3 separate regions of the Homo sapiens genome follow, and all the other regions are linked to region 2. The links are contacts of gene promoters, found by promoter capture Hi-C in human tissues and cell types (Jung and others, 2019). All regions are on one chromosome and are shown on one strand. Each heading gives the region's core, a stretch centred on a gene start or on the middle of the fragment in contact. The rest is flanking DNA. Distances are from core to core; before and after follow the strand shown.

Region 1 (4,181 bases), core at 1-2,500, 210 kb after region 2:
GGAATCAGATGTTTTTAATACAAACCTTCACTGTTTCCTTAATCTTCCATACAATTTGATTTTGGAGGGATGCTTCACAGAGAATATAGTCGGGTGCAATGCAGGTTTGGCCACAATTCATGTATTTTCCCCAGGTTATGCGTCTGAGGGGAAAACATCCAGAACAGCTATATAATTCAGTAATTCAGTCAAATATTCATTTGTTACATTGTGTTGTTTGAATGTCTTGCAACTAAAATAGATTCATATATTTATCTGGCAATTTTTATAAAAAAGTTAAAAACTCATTTCTAAATCAGTTGTTTGGAACTTAGAAAGTATTTTCCAAATGAGGTGGAATATTTTACATAGCAGGGAAGTTCTCAGGCCAGCTCACGGCAAACAGTACTTGGTAAACAGTGAAGCCATTGCCTGCTGCAGGAAAAGAGGAGAAACAGCCTCCCAATGTCCTTTCCCCTCTTCCAGTCCAGCCAAAGGAAAGTCCTGGATGACCAGAGTTCGGTACAGACTCTCCTGGTTGTGGCTTTTGGCTCTGCCTGCAAGATGTTCAGGTATAAAGCAGGATGTCAGCCAGCCTCCAAGGCCATCCTCCTCTTTGTGGAGCCCTGCCCCACTTGGGAAGACCTTTCCTATGCATGGGCAGAAACCCATGCCCTAAACATTCACTAACTGAGGGTGTCTGGTTTTGACAAATGGATTTCTACTTAGGAAGCCAACCTGGAACCCTGACCTGGAATCTCTGAAGGGCAGAGAAAGCCACACCACCCAGAGCACAGAGTCAGTTCTATGATTTGGCACTTCTTAGTAGCTAAACCGGATTTAGCAGAGAGAACCTGAAACCTCTTATTTTCTAATTTTCAGATGCAAGATGTTATTCACAGTTAAAAAATGAGGAACACTTGTTTTGCCCACAAAGGATCTCAGTTAAGATATCAGCATAATACCCTCTCAAATGGGCATTTAAAGATTTTATTAGGCACACACAATACTTTGGATTATGTACTTCACAGATCACTGGCCAGAAGAACGTTAAAATTTCTTGCTAGATCTAGCTGTAATCTTGAGAACAGATATAACTTTTTTAAAATTCCTAAGGACAACCACATGATGTCAGGACTTACAGCTCACCATTTTTGACAGTGGCGCCAAGAGACAGTGAAAGACTCCTGTTACTCTTGAGGACATCAACCACCAAAGCTTAATAATGTATCTTGGAGCCATAAGGTATGGGGTTCAAGTACAAAGAGTAACATTGTCAGGAAAAGTCTCCATTGTGCTGGGAAAACCTCAGAAAATCAGAGAGCCAGACTCACCTGCAAACAATGTCCAGGTCACAATCTTTATCAATATAACATGGACTTTTCCCTCCCAGTTCAAGAGTCACAGGGGTCAGATGCTTGGCAGCAGCTTCCATGACAATTTTGCCAACCGCAGTGTTTCCCGTATAGAAAATGTGGTCAAATCGCTGCTTCAGGAGCTCCGTGGTTTCCTCAACACCACCATTAATAACAATATAGAGATCCTCAAAGAAAGAGAAACACAAACTCTTGCACTGCCAAATAAATCCTAACGTCTAACATCAGCAATCTCTTCAACATAAACATGTAACATTCAGTAAAACCCAGAGAGTGTCAAGACCAGTCCCTGTGAGGGATGGGAGAGGGAACTGACCAAGGACAAGAGGAGAACACACAGTCCGATGGCATCTGGGAAGCATGAACCCACATAGAACTAATCTGGAGACTCCAGTGTTTTTTTACATGAGCTCAGCAACAAAGACACTAAGGAGAACAAATGGTTGAATTTGACCAGGGAAAATGCATGAGACGCGGGTGTGTGCAGAAGTGCCTCTGGTGAAGAGTGGCTCCCACAGGACAGGTCATGCATGTCTTAGTCTGAATGTTCTCTGTCTCACAACACAGAGTGGGCTTAGCCCACGCTATTCTGAATGAATGGTATATCCGGCACAGTAGCTGAGAGCGCTTGCTTTTGAAGTGTATCTGGTTTGAATCTGGGCTCTGCCACTCACTAGCTTATGCAACCTTAGGCAAGCTACTGAACATCTCTGAGCCTCAATTTCCTCATCTGTTACTGGGAGAATTCACGTAGCTTCTGTGGACTGAGCCCATCTATGCATTGTGCTATCATTACCAGCTATTCTAAGAGAGAACATCTTGGACAATAACAGCATCAAAAGTAAGAGAACAGATGGCAAGCAAGGAAGACAGAGAGGTATTCAAGACTCCAAGGTGGAAGTGTGAAGTAAAAGCTGGCTTGTGGATCTCATGTTTCCACTTGAAGGCGAATTAATTTCATTCACTTCATGGTTCAGCTGCCCAACAAATGTTTCAAGCTTTAACTTTTCTATGGCTTAATCTACATAGCATATATTATTGATCCCCTAACACGGTAACTGAAGCTGGTAGAGCATTATTATCCTCCTTATCCGGACAGAGTCAGTTATTGAAGAATTTACCCCTGGTCAGGGGCAAAGCGGTACCTTCAACCTCTATCTTCTGGTTCTACGTCCTATTCAATCCTTGACATCTCACTGTCTTCCATTTCATCTTTCTTGATTGGATCATCACAGCTATTAGAACAAAATGGCTCTAACAAAGAGAAAAATATCATTCCAAGAACCAGAACTGGCCTCAATCCATCACAAGTTGATGTACAGAATACAGGTAAGATATTTTTAAGCTGTATTTCGCTTAAAGCTAAATGAAGACTCCTCCCTGTAGCAACTGCATGTAGAACTCAGCAGTGCCAATTTCTTCGCGGCATCATAACTTCCTCCCCAGGAAGGCATAAGAACCTCTGACTCAGACAGATGAACTACCCGCAGTTGGGCAGATCATTTTCTTTATTCAGTTCTTGATATTCTTAAATGCCAGCATGTTAAGTCAGTGTGAGGATCTGCCCTCTAGTTCAGGAGGGCACTTTTTGTGTATGTGTGGCATGTTTTCATGCCACAGACATGTCTTTTTTGAAAGCAGAAGTACTCTTATAGGCTGGGTGAGAGGTGAGAGCGTGCGGGCAACCCTTGCTCGCTCTCAGCACCTCCTTGGCCTTGGCACCCACTCTCGCCACGCTTGAGGAGCCCTTCAGCCCACAGCTGCACTGTGGGAGCCCCTCTCTGGGCTGGCCAAGGCTGGAGCCGGCTCCTTCTGCTTGTGGGAAGGTGTGGAGGGAGAGGCGCAGGCAGGAACCGGGGCTGCGCGTGGCGCTCACAAGCCAGAGCGAGTTCTGGGTGGGCGCAGGCTCAATGGGCCCCACACTCGGAGCAGCTGGCCGGCGCCGCCAGCCCTGGGCAATGAGGGGCTTAGCACCTGGGCCAGCTGCTGAGGAGGGTGCCCCGGGTCCCCCAGCAATGCCAGCCCACCAGCGCCACACTCGAATTCTCGCCGGGCCTCAGCCACCTCCCCGCAGGGCAGGGCTCGGGACCTGCAGCCCGCCATGCCCAAGGCCCCCACCCCGCCCCTGGTGGGTTCCCATGCTGCCCGAGCCTCCCTGATGGGCGCCGCCCCCTGCTCCACAGCGCCCAGTCCCATCGACCGCCCAAGGGCTGAGGGGTGCAGGCGCGCAGCGCTGGACTGATGGGCAGCTCCACCCACAGCCCCGGCGTGGGATCCACTAGGCAAAGCCAGCTGGGCTCCTGAGTCGGGTGGGGACTTAGAGAACTTTTATGTCTAGCCGGAGGATTGTATATGCACCAATCAGCACTCTGTGTCTAGCTTGGGGTTTGTGGATGCACCAATCAGCACTCTGTATCTAGCTAATCTGGTGGGGATTTGGAGAACTTTTATGTCTAGCTAGAGGATTGTAAAAGCACCAGTCAGCACTCTATGTCTAGCTCAAGGTTTGTAAATGCACCAATCAGTGCTCTGTGTCTAGCTAATCTAGTGGGGACTTGGAGAACTTTTATGTCTAGCTAGAGGATTGTAAATGCACCAATCAGCATTCTGTGTCTAGCTCAGGGATTGTAAACGCACCAATCAGCACCCTGTCAAAACGGACCAATCAGCTCTCTGTAAAATGGACCAATCAGCAGGATGCGGGTGGGGCCAGATAAGGGAATAAAAGCAGGCTGCCCAAGCCAGCAGCGGCAACCTGCTCGGGTCCCCTTTGACACTGTGGAAGCTTTGTTCTTTCAGTCTTTGCAATAAATCTTGCTGCTGCTG
Region 2 (4,097 bases), core at 400-2,899:
AGCCAACATGGTGAAACCCCACCTCTACTAAAAAAAAAAAAATTAGCCGGGCATGGTGGTGCAGGTCTGCAATCCCAGATACTTGGGAGGCTGAGGCAGGAGAATCACTTGAACCCAGGAGGCGGAGGCTGCAGTGGGCCGAGATCATGCCATTGCACTCCAGCCTGGGCAACAGAGCAAGACTCTGTCTCAAAACAAAAAACAGGCCGGGCGTGGTGGCTCACGCCTGTAATCCCAGCACTTTGAGAGGCCGAGACAGGCTGATCCCTTGAAGTTGGGAGTTTGAGACCAGCCTGGCCAACATGGTGAAACCCCATCTCTACTAAGATACAAAAATTAGCTGGGCGTGGTGGTGCGTGCCTGTAATTCTAGCTGCTTGGGAGGCTCAGGCAGCAGAATCACTTGCACTTGGGAGGCAGAGGTTGCAGTGAACCAAGATTGTGCTACCGCACTCCAGCCTGGGTGACAGAGTAAGATTCTGTCTCAAAAAAAAAAAAAAAAAAAAAAGTAAACAAAAAAATAGACTGTAGAGAATCTTTCAGTGAGGTAAGGAATCATCTCCATCCATTTTTGGGTGTATGTGCAAACTTGCTTAAGTTGCTGTCAACTTTTGAAGGCTCCAGATTTTCAGTGTCTAACACAACCACCTGGGCCAGATGTAAGTAAGGACAGGATAACGTAAGCGTGCACAGTAGCAGAAGCAGAAACTCAAGGCCCTACGTTTTGAGCGTGTGAGGAAGGAGCGTTCTCTCAGAATCCTGGAGCTGACTCTGTCATGGTTCAGAGATCAGCTTGCAGGGACAGGCAGTGGCAGTCGAGGTGGTGACAGACCCCAAAAGCACATACCCTATACAACCGAACACACACTCAAGTGTGGAGCCTGCGTATTCCATGGTAGTTTCAAGCATATTGTTTATTAAATGGTTTCATAAGACACTTCTTTGCGGGAAACCTGACAATCTGTTCCTTGTCACTTGGACAGCTTTAACAATCAGGTAGAAAAGAAAGCTCCCTTCGGCCATGTGAAGTAAGCCCGAGGTCAAACTAGCCTGACACTAGGAGCTCCCAGGAGAACCTTGAAAACGTGTGCGATTCTGAGTCGGTGTGCAGAAACGATTCTCTGCGAAGAGGGCCCTGAGCTGTCACCAGCTTCTCGCAGTCAAGGGACCCCCAAAAGGTGCAGAATCCCGCCTGTCACCGTCCCTCTAGGGATCCTAAGCGAGTAAACCCCGAGAGGCGTCCGAAGGCTGGCAGTTTGGCAGCGTGAACTCTGGTTTTCCAGAGCGCGGGCAAAGCCTGGAGTAGCAGTTGCTCCTTTGCTCTGGCAGGAATCTGGGGGTCTACCCTGCGCAGATAATCCCGTCCTGCCTGCAGCTGGGGTTCAAGACCCGCTTCTCTGAAGTCCGCCTCCCAGCGGCCTGGAGCCCGGGGCGTGGTCGGCTCGAATCTGCTCCCCAGGCCCAGAACGGAGCCCGCAGCCCGTAACCCGCTGTGGCCGCAGCGGGTCGCGCCCTTCGTCCCCGCCTCAGGAGCGGCCGAGGATCTGCCCAGCTGCGGGCGCCAAGCCCTGGCCGCACTCCTTTCCCCGGCGGAGGGAGCCGGCTGGCGCTGCGGCCTTCAAGGCGCGCGGACGTCGCGGAGGGCAGCCAGTCGCGCGGGAGCGGGTAGCGCGCGCGAGGGCGTTGGGCGCCGCCGCGAGGCGGGGAAGCGCGGGGCCGCGGCGGTGCGGGTTCTAGGGCGGCGGCCGTCGCCGTCGCAGCAGCGCCCCGAGCGGGGAGGGCCGAGGAGGCCCGACGAGCTGGGGATGGAGAGTACCGGGCCCCTCACTGCCTCAGAGCGCGTGTGCGGCTCTGGGCGCGCACAGTGACGGTGACGGCACCCCTGGCCCGGCAGCGCCGAGGCCGCTTCGCCAGACAGCCAGCGGCCGGCGGCAGGCCGGGCCATGAGCGGCAGGGGCCGGGCCGGGCCTCGCTGACCCTGGCTCCGCGCGGCAGCTTCCCCAGTTTCCGCTCCGGTCTCTCGGCATGAGAGTCCGCCCGGGCCCGGGGCTGCGGCTGCCCCAGACCCGCCGCACGCTGGCGCGCTCCGGGCCCGCGGAGCCGCGGTGCTGATACCTGCGCCGCACTGCGCCGCCCGCCCGTCCGCTGTGTGCCCCGGGGGCGCGGCCATGGAGGTGGTGGGTGACTTCGAGTACAGCAAGAGGGATCTCGTGGGACACGGGGCCTTCGCCGTGGTCTTCCGGGGGCGGCACCGCCAGGTGAGCGCCGGCCGGGGCGAGGCCGGGCCCCGGGCGGCAGGCACGGGGCTAGGTGGTTCTGAAACTTGGCGCAGCCGCGAGCCGAGACCCCCGACTCGGCTAGCCGCCCGGGTATGCTATTGTGCGCGCAGCCCGTCTCGCCGTTTGTTTTGGTCCTGTGAGGGTTGTTGTGAGGCCCAAGCCTCTGGCAGCGCTCCGCCTACCGACCGGCTGCTGCTGATCCTCCTGTGTGCCCGGGGCCCACCCCGCGGTCCGCCCGCAGGAGCGTTTGCACCCAGGTTACCCTGGACCCAAAATAGACGGTACTGCACCGTGCAGACTCGAGGGTTGGGCGTGAATGGACCTTTGGTTTTTTTCCCCGTGCCCAGGGCTGGTCACTTTTGAGGTTGATAATTACAGACCCAGCGGAAAATGGGCGGATGTCCCATTAGCCTCAGGCTTTCGCAGCCTGGGAGGTGTCACCTTTCCCAGCACTGGTCCCCTGCACCCCGAAGAGCCCCCGTACCGTTTTCCCCCCCGGAGTCAGATAGACGAGCTCCGGGTGAGAAAGGTGGTTGGACAATTCATTTTCAATCACCTTGAACATGAAATCACCTTTAAGCCTTAAAAAAATTGTTTTAAGCCTTTGCTGTTTCGCAAGTACAGTTACACGAGGTTTTAGAATCTAAAGAATTTGGAAAGGCATATCGGGAGTGGAAATAATCTTAAAGGGTGTGGCAGTTCTGATTGTTGCCCAAGGGGCGTGTTAAAAGTGGGCTGACTTTGTTGCTTATCGGATGAAGTAATGCTACTTTTCTTATTTATTTATTTATTTATTTTTGAGACAGAGTCTCGCTTTGTCGCCGAGGCTGGAGTGCCGTGGCGAGATCTCCGCTCACTGCAACCGCTGCCTCCCGGGCTCAAGCGATTCTCCTGCCTCAGCCTCCTGAGTAGCTGGGATTACAGGTGCCCGCCACCACGCCCGCCTAATTTTTTTTTTTTTGTATTTTTAGTAGAGATGGGGTTTCACCACGTTGGCCAGTGTGGTCTTGAACTCCTGACCTCAGGTGATCCGATCTGCCCGCCTCAGCCTCCCAAAGTGCTGGGATTACAGGTGTGAGCCACGGCTCCCGGCCTACTTTTCATTTATTAGGAAAATAATTTAGAACTCAAGCACGGTGTAATCCTTCCAAGCTAACAAATAACTTTTCAATTAACTGTATCACCTTCCAAGTTTATTTCTACATTTGTCCATAACTTTGAAGTGGTTGTGAACTGTTCTTTTTTCATTTAATGTTAGTTACCATGTGGACTTCATATTTGTTATTTTTAGAAGTTGTGTTGTAGGATCTTGGCATATTGCACTATAATTTATGAAATCACTTTCCAATTATTGAAAATAATTCCATTTTTCCCCAATGCCGTACATTTATTTGCCAAAAACACCTTCGCGCTTGTAAATTTTTTTCTGTTATTTATGTGGAATGGTATCTAGGAGTAACACTGTTTTTCCTTTTCAGAAAACTGATTGGGAGGTAGCTATTAAAAGTATTAATAAAAAGAACTTGTCAAAATCACAAATACTGCTTGGAAAGGAAATTAAAATCTTAAAGGTATGTTACTTTATGTAGTAGTATTCATATAAGGTTAAAACTTAATTTAAATGAATACATGCTGCCATCCTTTTCAATTTTGGTAGTTGGGTCCAAGTTTGAGAATTTTCAACTGTTGCTCTCCTTTTTGCATGCTCACTTTTTTAAAACATTGAGTACTCGGAAGCTATTTTTAAGAACCAAAGCTCAGAGGGATTCTGTGAAGACTGAGTTTAGCTTCTCATCATTTCTCTTTTTCCTAGTGACTG
Region 3 (4,579 bases), core at 174-2,673, 240 kb before region 2:
TTCAACTTTTTAAAAACTGATAAATTAAAATATACCTTTTGAGATCTAGCCTGAATGTGACTTTTACGAAAAGAGCACAAAAATTATAAGTGCCCCTTCAACACATTAAAAATTAGTAACGATGTATTTCAGTTATTTTTCCCGTCTTAGACAATTTAGCAATACACTGAGGGCTGCACTGTAAGAGTTAGGCCATGAAAGCTTAAGAGTTATTATCTATATGCACAAAGAGAGAATTAAATAAATTCTTTGATATTTCATGTTTCACATGCTCTGAACTCAAATATAATGATTGAAAAACCCTTTTCTGATTCTTAAAAAATGAGTAACACTGAGAAGGTTCACAGCTTCCTGTTGCCACTGCCGTCCAAGCCACTCTGAGCAGCCTTCCACAGCTGCTGGGCGAGGCTCTTCCCAGCTTTCCATAGGGTTCAGTACAAATATTAGACACCCACCTTCGCAAGGGATCAACAGGGTTCATTCATTCCTCTAATGCATTCTGTATCAAGACAGCCCCAGAACATATGCCGCCCTGCTTGGATGTCAGAAGGATTTCACACGTGCATGGTGACAAATGGACCTCCGAAGGGACCAAAGAAACCACAGCACGCCCAGTTACCTTTTGCTTCTCATCGGTCTCCCCACTCTATAGATGTAAACTCCCTGTGGGCAGCGACATCGTCTGCCTAAAACAGTTCCGGCCCAGGGTAAGTGGTCAAGAAATATTTCACGAGGGAAGGAATGGATGGGTCATGGGTCACTGAAGTGCTTCCATGCGGCCAGGACTGATGGCCTGCCGAGCCCACCTGCCCGGTCCCTCCTACCTGTGCCGCTCCTCAGGCGGCTCTCCGTGAGCTCCGAGATGGCTCCGGCAGTGGCGGTCTTCTTCAGGCGAACCACCCCCGATGCAGCGGTACTTCCTGGCTTGTTGAGCGTGTCCTCACTGCTGGCCCTCTTGAGCTGAGAGAGTTGGAAGGAAAGAGAGAGGATGAAGAGGTGGTTTTCAGGAAGGAGCGCTATAAACAAGCAGAGCATGGGAGCTGGGCTATGTGCCCAGCAGTCAAGATACAATAACAGCACTTTGAGTAGCATGATAGAGTGAAGTGAAAAAATGCAAAGCTACACAAACCTGTTTCTGTCATAACAGGTCCGAGTATGATCTCCCATGACTGTTTCAAAGAGCAGTGTCTAAGACTGTGCGTGAAGAATACCATCAGGTCACACTTCAAGTAATGAGCCTTAAAAAATGTGGCTGGGCACAGTGACTCACGACTGTAGTCCCAGAACTTTGGGAGGCTGAGGTGGGAGGACTGCTGGGCTCAGGAGTTCAAGACCAGCCTGGGCAACAGTGAGACTCTGTCTCGCTAATATTTTTTTTTAATTAGCTGGGCATGGTGACACCCAGGAGGCTGAGGTGAGAGGATTGCTTGAGCCCAGAAGTTCAAGGTTGCAGTAAGCTATGATTGTGCCATTGTACTCCAGCCTGGGTGACAAAGTGAAACCTCGTCTCTAAACAAAAATTTTAAATAAAAAATAAATCTGCTCTCCTGGTGGGGGAAAAAAAGAATGGGAACCAATGAAAAAAGAACTGGGAGATGCACAAAAGGCAGGGTAGGGCAATGCAAAAGAAATTCCAGGACAACAAAAAAAGGCTCATGACATAGGCCAGGAGGAGGTGGAGGGAGAGAAACAATCTGAGTATCTGCTGTGGCCTCACCACCAAGCATTCTGTAGATGATCTGACACAGAAAATGTGTTCAAAGGTGAGAAAGGAAATCTTGGAGGCTGGAAGACAGAAGAAAGCAGCGCCCTCTGTTCTGGCTTTGCTTTCTTCCCTGTCATGGGACAAACATTTGCTAAAAGGTGCTGAAGTCTAAGAAAGGAGACTCCTAAGTGATCCACACTTCAGGCCCAGATAGATTACATTCAACGTTAATGAGAAAAACCACAACTGAATTCTCTCAACTACTGTTGGGTCTTCATGAAAGAAGGCTCTGGAGAGGAACAGTGCCGGAAGACTGGAGAAGGCAGCTGCCCAAAGCTGTCTAATGTATCTGACATCCAGAGCACACAGTAAGGAAAAGCCCTTAAATCAATGTCGATATGCAGTGGGCGAGCCCCGCCCATCACACAGGCTGAAGGGAAAAGCCCTGCTCCATCCTACTCCACTGGCTTTGGGGTCATTTACTGAGAGTTAGAAGTTTAAATATTTGCACAATTTTTTAAAGTTTCCATCTTTGCATCATTTAAATTTCAGGGTGTAACCACCCTCACCCCACCATAGTTTGAAAGTGAATAAACACCAATACCAAGTGTTGGTGAGGCTGTGAAGCAACTGGAACACTCATGCCCTGTGAGTGGAAGTGTAAACTGGCATAACTGCTTTGGAAAGTGGCAGTATCTACTAACGCTAAGGCTGGAAAATAGAAGAAAGCAACACCCTCTGCTCTTGCTTTGCTTTCTTCCCTGTCATGAAAGGGGTAGGACAAACATTTGCTGAAAGGCAGTAAGTCGAAGAAGGGAGACTCCTAAGTGAGCACGCACAGTTCCCTGTGACTCAGCAATCCCATTCCTAGATCCGCACCCAAGAGAAGCAAGTACATAGGTCCCTCAAAAGAATGTTCATAGCACCTTTTTTATAGCAGCCCAAAACTAGAACAACCCAAATGTCCTTCAACAGAGAGGATAAATGCAATGAGAACCACACAGCAAATAGGAAAAAAATGAATTACTGATATACTAATAAATGGGTGGCTGTCCCAGGTATTATGCTAAGTGAAAGAAGCAGACACAAAAGAGTATATACTGCCTGATTCCACTTGTATTAAGTTTAAAAGCTGCACAATCAAATGATGGTAATATAAGTCAGAATAGTGGTTACCTCTCGGGGAGTTACAACCAAAAAGAAACCTTCTGGGGTGCTGGAACGTTCAACATATTGACAGGGTGGTGGTTACACAAGTGTAAAAAAATATAAACATGCAATGAGCTTTATAGCTAAGATTAAGATTAGTGTACTTTATGGATTTTATTGTAAATATGCTGTGCTTCATTAAAACAGAAAAAGAAAATTGGAGTGAAGGAAGTTTGCAATTTAGGCAAAGTCCTAGTTCCACTCCTGCAAATACTAGCCTTCTGGGTTTTTTTTTTTTCCTTTTTTTTGTAATTTTTAAAACTTTACTGTGCTAAAATAAGCATAATATAAAATTCACCATTTTAAGTGCACAATTCAGTGGTATTAAATACATTCACCATGTTGTACAACCATCACCACCATCCATCTCCAGAAATTTTTACCATCACAAATAAAGTCTACTCATTAAACAGTAACTCGCCATTGCCTTTTAACAAGAGGGATGACGGTAGAAGTCTTTTTGTTTTTTTAGAGACAAGGTCTTGCTCTGTTACACAGGCAGGAGTGTAGTAGTTCAAACATGGCTCATTGCAGCCTTGAATTCCTGGGCTTTCCTGCCTCAGCCTCCCAAGTAGCTAGGACTATAGGTGCACAACACTATGCCTGGCTAATTTTTTAAAAATATTTTTGTAGAGGTGGGATCACATGGTCGAGCGCAGTGGCTCATGCCTATAATCCTAGCACTTTGGGAGGCCAAAACGGGCAGATCACCTGAGGTCAGGAGTTTGAGACAAGCCTTGTCAACATGGTGAAACCCCATCTCTACTAAAAATACAAAAATTAGCCAGGTGAGTTCGAGATGAGCCTGGTCAACATGGTGAAACCCCATCTCTGCTAAGAATACAAAAATTAGCCAGGTGTGGTGACACATGCCTGTAATCCCAGCTACTCGGGAGGCTGAGGCAGGAGAATCGCTTGAACCCAGGAGATGGAGGTTACAGTGAGCCGAGATCGCGCCACTGCACTCTATACTGGCAAACAGTCTATCCATCTCAAAAAAAAAAAAAAAAGAAAAAAGAAAAGAAAAGAAGAGACAGGATCTCACTATGTTGCCCAGGCTGGTCTTGAACTCCTGGCCTCAAGCAATCCTCCACCTCAGCCTCCCAAATGCTGGTATTATCGGTATGAGCCACCACTCCCAGCCTGATGGTGGATGTCTTCATATTAGCCATGCAATCTTGGTCAAGATTTCAAAACAAATTATTAACTTTAAAAACAAGTAATTCACATTAAAAGGATGATTTGTGTGCAACTCCAGTTACTAGATGTCAGCATAATCACATTTTCTTTTGTTTTTCTTTTCTTTTTTTTTTTTTTTTTTTTTTTTTGAGACACGAGTCTCACTCTGTCGCCCAGGCTGGAGTGCCGTGATGCGATCTCGGCTCACTGCAACCTCTGCCTTCCTGATTCTCATCCTCCCAAGTAGTAGTTGGGGCTACAGGCGTGTGCCTCCACACCTGGCTGATTTTTGTATTTTTAGTAGAGACGGGGTTTCATCATGTTGCCCAGGCTGGTCTCAAACTCCTGATCTCGGGTGATCCACCTGCCTCAGCCTCCCAAAGTGCTAGGATTACAGGCGTGGGCCACCACGCCTGGCCCACGACCACATTTTCTGAACAACAGCACAGTCCCCTAATTTAGCAACTGGACTGTATTAGTCTGTTC

What was found. The method cuts DNA at HindIII sites, captures the fragments that hold promoters and counts their contacts. A contact is called where the count stands out against the background at its distance.
Region 1: a contact is called between a fragment that was not itself captured here and the fragment with the promoter of ULK2 in region 2, in 1 of the 25 tissues and cell types used here (dorsolateral prefrontal cortex).
Region 3: a contact is called between a fragment that was not itself captured here and the fragment with the promoter of ULK2 in region 2, in 1 of the 25 tissues and cell types used here (lymphoblastoid cells).

What each region holds. Positions count from the first base shown.
Region 1 is chr17:19,653,707-19,657,887 of GRCh38, reverse strand. ALDH3A2 (aldehyde dehydrogenase 3 family member A2) reads right to left here. Exons shown (of 10, transcript NM_000382.3): 4 at 1,314-1,522; 5 at 26-143. Among named protein-coding and RNA genes, the nearest start is that of ALDH3A2, 7.0 kb to the right of the region's middle. The HindIII fragment of the contact is 6,920 bases long and covers 1-4,181 here.
Region 2 is chr17:19,865,488-19,869,584 of GRCh38, reverse strand. It overlaps ULK2 (unc-51 like autophagy activating kinase 2), which reads left to right and starts at 1,649. Exons shown (of 27, transcript NM_014683.4): 1 at 1,649-2,257; 2 at 3,757-3,849. The coding sequence starts at 2,168. RefSeq lists silencers at 1,596-2,185, 2,266-2,445 and an enhancer at 2,024-2,532. The HindIII fragment of the contact is 32,590 bases long and covers 1-4,097 here.
Region 3 is chr17:20,106,808-20,111,386 of GRCh38, reverse strand. SPECC1 (sperm antigen with calponin homology and coiled-coil domains 1) reads right to left here. Exons shown (of 15, transcript NM_001243439.2): 3 at 825-960. Among named protein-coding and RNA genes, the nearest start is that of SPECC1, 100 kb to the right of the region's middle. The HindIII fragment of the contact is 5,222 bases long and covers 1-4,034 here.